Linked DNA regions of Homo sapiens: region 1 is linked to region 2. The links are contacts of gene promoters, found by promoter capture Hi-C in human tissues and cell types (Jung and others, 2019). All regions are on one chromosome and are shown on one strand. The core of a region is centred on a gene start or on the middle of the fragment in contact, and the rest is flanking DNA. Distances in the headings are between cores, read along the strand shown.

Region 1 (3,034 bases), core at 7-2,506, 110 kb after region 2:
TTTGTAGAGTCAGGGCCTATACTATGTTGTCCAGACTGGTCTCGAACTCCATATCTCAAGCAGTCCTCTGCCTCAGCCTCACAAAGTGTTGGGATTGTAGGCATAAGCCACCATGGCCGGCCTGGAATGTTTATTTTGATGTAATCTTTATTTTGCACTGTTTCTAGCTATAATCGATGGTATAATGATATAATCGATTGTGTAAGGATTCTAGAACAGTGCCTCTCACACCATCTGTGATGAAGAACTTGGTTTTTTCTACTTTAAAATTTCCAATCCTTTATCAACTAGTGCATTTGTAAGAATACAATAAAAATATCACGGCAGTATCAGATTGCTATAAAAGTTTTTTAAATGCTTTTCTCCTTTTTGGTGCTTCTCTCGTGTGGGCTCGTGTCAGTCCGTGAGCCATAATTCTAGTAGCACTGGCCTAGAGAATACTTCAGAAAGTAGTTCTAGGAAGAAAAGCAAGTAGAATTATTTTGTAATTAATGAGTTTGCTGTGCTGTCTCAGTTTCCACACTGTGACTGAGAAGAGGCCATTCTGAAGAGGAGCAGGCTGAAAGGAGGCAAGGCTGTTCTGTCTCCTTCTCTTGGGCATGTCCCTCACAGCTCTGCTCCCACTCACCACTCCAGAAGAGCAGCTACTCCCCAGCTGGGTCATGTGTGCATCAAGCCTGACCTGACGCCACTGGCCAATTGCTGTTTCCTTAGAGCTCCATTTGCTGCTTACATTTTAAGTTCTTTCCCTTCTGGTTCCGGCAAGTTCTCAGCTGCAAATAACTTCCCTGCCTCCGTTCATAGGTCCTTATTCTGCTCTCATTTTGGGGGACTTGTCTGGTGTAGCCCTTTCTCACCCGCGTCTCTTTTATCCCTTAAGTCTCCATACTTGCGGAAATGGTTATGGCCCATTGAAGGAGTCACTCCTGGTGCCTCTCAGGACCTTATCTGCCCCATCCCTGGGGCCATCCTGAGTCTGTTCCAGCATTCAGCTAAATATTCTAGCACTCGTTTATTCTCACCCCAAATAAATGCATATTTTTAGAAAATGTGATCATAATGTACTTTTCTGGATCAAGCTTATAACACCCTTTGATATATCCTTGCAGGATGACTGGGTTTGTGAACTCTTAAGTTTTCGTCTGTTTTTGCTGCTACTTGAATGTTCTTTATTTCTAGCTCAGGCTTAGAATTTGGACTGAAAGAAGTCCTCCTGCGTTCATGAGCTCATGTGTTCTCAGTCTGCCAGGGAACTTCCATGGAGCCTGGTTTGTGCTCCTCCCTGAGGGAAGCAGGGCAGGATAGGGCTTCAAGTGCAAGCCAAGGACTTGATAAGCCTGAAATGAGCTGGGCTCCTGCCTTTCACCAGCTGCACGACCTTGGGCAAGCAGATTAATCTTTTTCAACCTCTGGAAATTGGGAGTAATAAGAGAACAAATCTGAGGATTAAATGAGATGCTTGGCACATAATAAGTGTTACATATTATATTTATCTGCTATCATATCATTATATTGTTATTTCTATTCATATTATTTGCTATTTCTAATAGACACTAAAATGTTGCAACACACTGAACTCAGGGTTTCTTCACCCTGGCACCATTTTGGTCGGACAGTTTTGTCTTGCAGGGGGCTGTCCTGTGCATTATAGAATGTTTAGCAGCATCCGTGGCCTCTACCCACTAGATGCCAGTAGCACCTCTCCCTTGAGTTGTGACAATCAAAAACATCTCCATTCATTGCCAAATCCCACTCCCCCCGCCACAGACACAGTTCCCTGGTTGAGACCCATTGGTTTAAATAAGTATGTGTTTTCTAAGATGAACTGGAACTGCATCTACTTGGAATGGTTTGGAATTTCTCAAGATATTTTGCTCGAGTGTGATACAGAATTTAGAATTTTTTTTTAATCTCTTTCTGTGTTGCTATACGCAGCCTTAAAACGTTCTTGAGTTAATTAGATGAGCCAAAGAGATGGTGTCTGTGGGTCGCATGAAGTGGCTGGTGCAGCCTCCCCTGGTGCTGATGGCGGGCTCTCTTTGGCAGCGTACTGTAAGAACTCTGTGGACGGCCTCTGGTACTGCTTCGATGACAGCGATGTGCAGCAGCTGTCAGAAGATGAGGTCTGCACGCAGACAGCATACATCCTCTTCTACCAGAGGCGGACAGCCATCCCGTCATGGTCAGCCAACAGCTCGGTGGCAGGTGAGGTCCACTCTTGTTCTTGGGCAGTTTTTTCCAGAGCAAAAGATTGTAATGAATGGTCTAGAGGACCTCTCTGGAGGCTCTCATGACTCTGTCAGTTTGATCAGATGAATCCTTACGTTTCCATTTAATCTGGAAACTAAAATGACTGCAGTCAAGGAAGTTGGGGAGGAATGTGACAGCACCTGTGGCCCAGTGGAGTTCACTGGGGACAGTGGGTTGGACCTGGCGCAAAGAAAGCTCATGATGTGTTCTTGTGGATAAATGCATGGGTGAGCTGAAAAGCAGCGTGGCATACTACCCGCTGTCCTGGGGTTATCCTGGAGCCTGTCCCATCTGGGCCACATAGCAATCATCTATAATACAGGTGTAATAATAATGCCTACCTCATGGGGTCATCGTAAGCATCCAGTTAGATAAATGTGTGTTAAAACATTTTGTAAAGGGTAAAGGACCATTAGAAATAGTCTGCTTTTCCAGTGAGAAGATTGGACTATTCTGTTAGGAGAAGGATTGATGGCTGTGATAATATTAGGTGGCTTGGGTTTAGCCGGATGACATCCAGCCTGTTGTGTTTAATAAATGCAGGGACCAGTACCCACACACAATATGAATGCAGCCACACATAATCCAAACAAGTGGACACACGTTTCTGAATGCAGAGTTTGACTTCAAGAGAGCGTGACAGAGGATTGGAATGTGGTGATGTGCAATCAGGTTAGGGGCTATGAATCCTTGCTTCTCTTGAAGCTTGCAGGGGGTGAGTTCAAAGCAGTGAAAACAAGGCATCTCTCAAGCAGAATGACGCCCTGCTGGGGGCCAAGCCCAC
Region 2 (2,817 bases), core at 56-2,555:
ACTAGCTGATACCCAGCACTTACTCTTCTAAGTACTTTGCAGCTGTCACCTCATTTAATTTTCACGATAATCGTCTGAGGTAGGTATCACAACCACCTCCATTGTACAAATGAAACAGACGCTGACAGGTTAAGTAGCTTGCCCAAGGTCACACTAGAAAGTGGCTGAGCTGGGATTTGCACCTAGGAGTCCCTTTAACGACTAACTAGGCTGCTCTTCAATCATTAATAATAATAACAGCAGCAGGGAAAGCAGCAATAATGGCAGCTATCACTTATTGATCCCTTTCTGTACTCCCAGGCATCCCACTCAGTCCTTTTCACACACTACCTGATTTAATCCTCACTACAGTTATATGAGGTGCTATTACTTGGCCCATTTCACAGAGAAGGAAACTGAGGCACAGAGGTTAGGTAATTTGCCCAAGACCACACAGGTAGAAAGGATTTGAAGGATTCTTTAGAATTCCAGGGCCCTGGCTCATCGCAGCGGCTCCGTGCACCCCCTCCTCACCTACCACCGACTTTGCCTGTCCCCCATCCCACAGTGCAGGACCCCAAAGCTTGGAGAGGGATGAGAGATTTGCCCCAAGTCTAGCGTTGGGTTCGCTGGACCGGAGAGTTCCCGATCAGTGCCCGTCCCGAAGGGCGAGTCCTGTGCAGAAATCACTTGAACTCAACCTCAGGGCCCTGACCCGAGCTCCTGCCGAGCGACCCCGCAGCCCTGCCCTCCCTGCGCGGAGCGAGCGGGCGCTGTCCTGTGGCGGAAGCCACGTCTGCCCCGGGGGAGCGCCGGCTGAAGGCGCTGGAGCGAATCCAACCAGCCCACTTCAAGTGTTTGCTTCTTTCTGCACCAAGTCACCCCGGAGAAAGCATTCCAGAGGGTAGAAGGAACAGTAGCGGACAGGTCCACGCGACTCACCCCGGCAGGGAAGGGGGCTGAACAGGCGCTGGGCGGAGAAAAGAGGCCAGGTGTGGCCCGGGACCCCCAGACCCCCGGACTCTGAGTGGCTCTCGACTGGCTTCGTGCTCCGGGCCACGGCGTGGGTAGACCCGGGAGAGCTGGCCGCTACCGCCCGGGCAAGGTGTCCCAGCATCCCGGGCACCGGGAAGCCGCCACCGGCTGATGCTGGCTCGGCCACCCACCGCGCTGACGGCGTCCGACGCCCTGGCGCCCGGCATCCGCTCCAGTGCCCAGAACCCCCGAGCTGGTCCGACCCAACCCGGCTGAACTCACCTTTCGGTTCCAAAGGGTCCAAGGCTCGTGCGGGTGCGCTGCTCCTCTGCTCGCTCTCGGGCTAGCATCCCCTGGCAGCGCCACCGCGGGCTCTTGTGGGCCGGCCAGGCCCCGCCCCCTAGGGACCCGCCTCCCCAGGCCCCGCCCCCACCTGCCCAGGTGCTTTCCCCAGGCCGCCAGGCACCTGAGACCGCCCGGAGCGGGCCACGACTTCACAACGCCCCCTGGCGCCCCGAAGCCGCCCTGCGCCCCAGCCCGGCCGCGCTGCGTCTTCCTGGGCCACCGCGCAGTGCCTGCTGCCGCCCCGAGGCCGCCCTGCCATCCTGCATTCCCGCTGGGTCTCTGCGGCACTTACCCCAAGGCGCCTCAAAGCGCCTGCTGCCCCCTATTACTGCCCCGCGACTTCCTTCCACTCCCGTCCAGATGGCAGGTGCCTGCCCTAGCACCAGCAGTAATCCCACGCAGCCTCGCTCCTCGGACTCCCTCCAGACCTGCAGCTTCAGTGCCCACCAGCGTCCGGCTGTAGGCAGCAGGGGCTGTTCAGCCAGGCCACTCATCCTTTGACCTTTTCAGCTGCTTCTTTCTCTTTCTTTCGTTATTTCCTCCTTCCTTCTTCTTTCTTTTCCTCTTTCCTTCTTTTTTTTTTTTTTTGACGGAGTCTCGCTCTGTCGCCCAGTCTGGAGTGCAATGACGCTATCTCAGCTCACTACAACCTCCGCCTCCCGGGTTCAAGCAATTCTCCTGCCTCAGCCTCCCAAGTAGCTGGGGTTACAGGCGCGCGCCACCATGCCCGGATTAATTTTTGTGTTTTTAGTAGAGACGCGGTTTCACCATGTTGGCCAGGCTGGTCTCAAACTACTGACCTCAGGTGATCCACGCGTCTTGGCCTCCCAAAGTGCTGGGATTACAGGTGTGAGCCACCGCGCCTGGCCTGTCCTTCTTTCTCTTTCTCTCTTTCTTTCCTTTCTTTCCTCCTTCCTTCCTTGCCTGCCTGCCTGCCTTCCCGCCCGCCCACCTTCCTTCCTTCCTTCCTTCCTTCCTTCCTTCCTTCCTTCCTTCCTTCCTTCCTTTCTCTTTCTTGCTTGCTTGCCTTCCTTCCTTCCTTCCTCCCTCTTTCTTCTTTCTCTCTCTCCCTTCCTTCCTTCCTCCCTCCCTCCCTCCTTTTTCTTTCTTCCTTTCTTTCTTTCTTTCTTTCTTTTTCTTTCTTTCTTTCCTCTATTTCTCTCTTTCTTTTTTTAACAGGGTCTGCCTCTGTCACCTTGGCTGGAGTGCAGTGCTGCAATCATAGCTCACTGTAGCTGCCAACTACTGGGCTCAAGCGAGCCTCCCACTTCAGCGTCTCAAATAGCTGGAATTACAGAGGTAAGCCACCTTTCCTAGCTTCAGCTGCCTTTTTATAGGGACTCAGATAACTACAAGAAACGAGATTAGAAAACTGCAATTGGGAGGGACCATAGAGACACAGCCCCTTTGTGCCGGGGAGAAACTGAAGCCCAGAGAGAGGAAAGGATCTGTTCTTACCTAGAGCTTCTCAGATTTGAATGTGGTTACAATCACCTATGGATGTTGTTAAAATGCAGA

Evidence for each region. The method cuts DNA at HindIII sites, captures the fragments that hold promoters and counts their contacts. A contact is called where the count stands out against the background at its distance.
Region 1: a contact is called between a fragment that was not itself captured here and the fragment with the promoter of SCNN1G in region 2, in 2 of the 25 tissues and cell types used here (IMR-90 fibroblasts and aorta).

What each region holds. Positions count from the first base shown.
Region 1 is chr16:23,072,893-23,075,926 of GRCh38, reverse strand. USP31 (ubiquitin specific peptidase 31) reads left to right here. Exons shown (of 16, transcript NM_020718.4): 14 at 2,047-2,205. Among named protein-coding and RNA genes, the nearest start is that of USP31, 75 kb to the left of the region's middle. The HindIII fragment of the contact is 7,379 bases long and covers 1-3,034 here.
Region 2 is chr16:23,181,233-23,184,049 of GRCh38, reverse strand. It overlaps SCNN1G (sodium channel epithelial 1 subunit gamma), which reads right to left and starts at 1,305. Exons shown (of 13, transcript NM_001039.4): 1 at 1,237-1,305. RefSeq lists a silencer at 1,334-1,583. The HindIII fragment of the contact is 8,387 bases long and covers 1-2,817 here.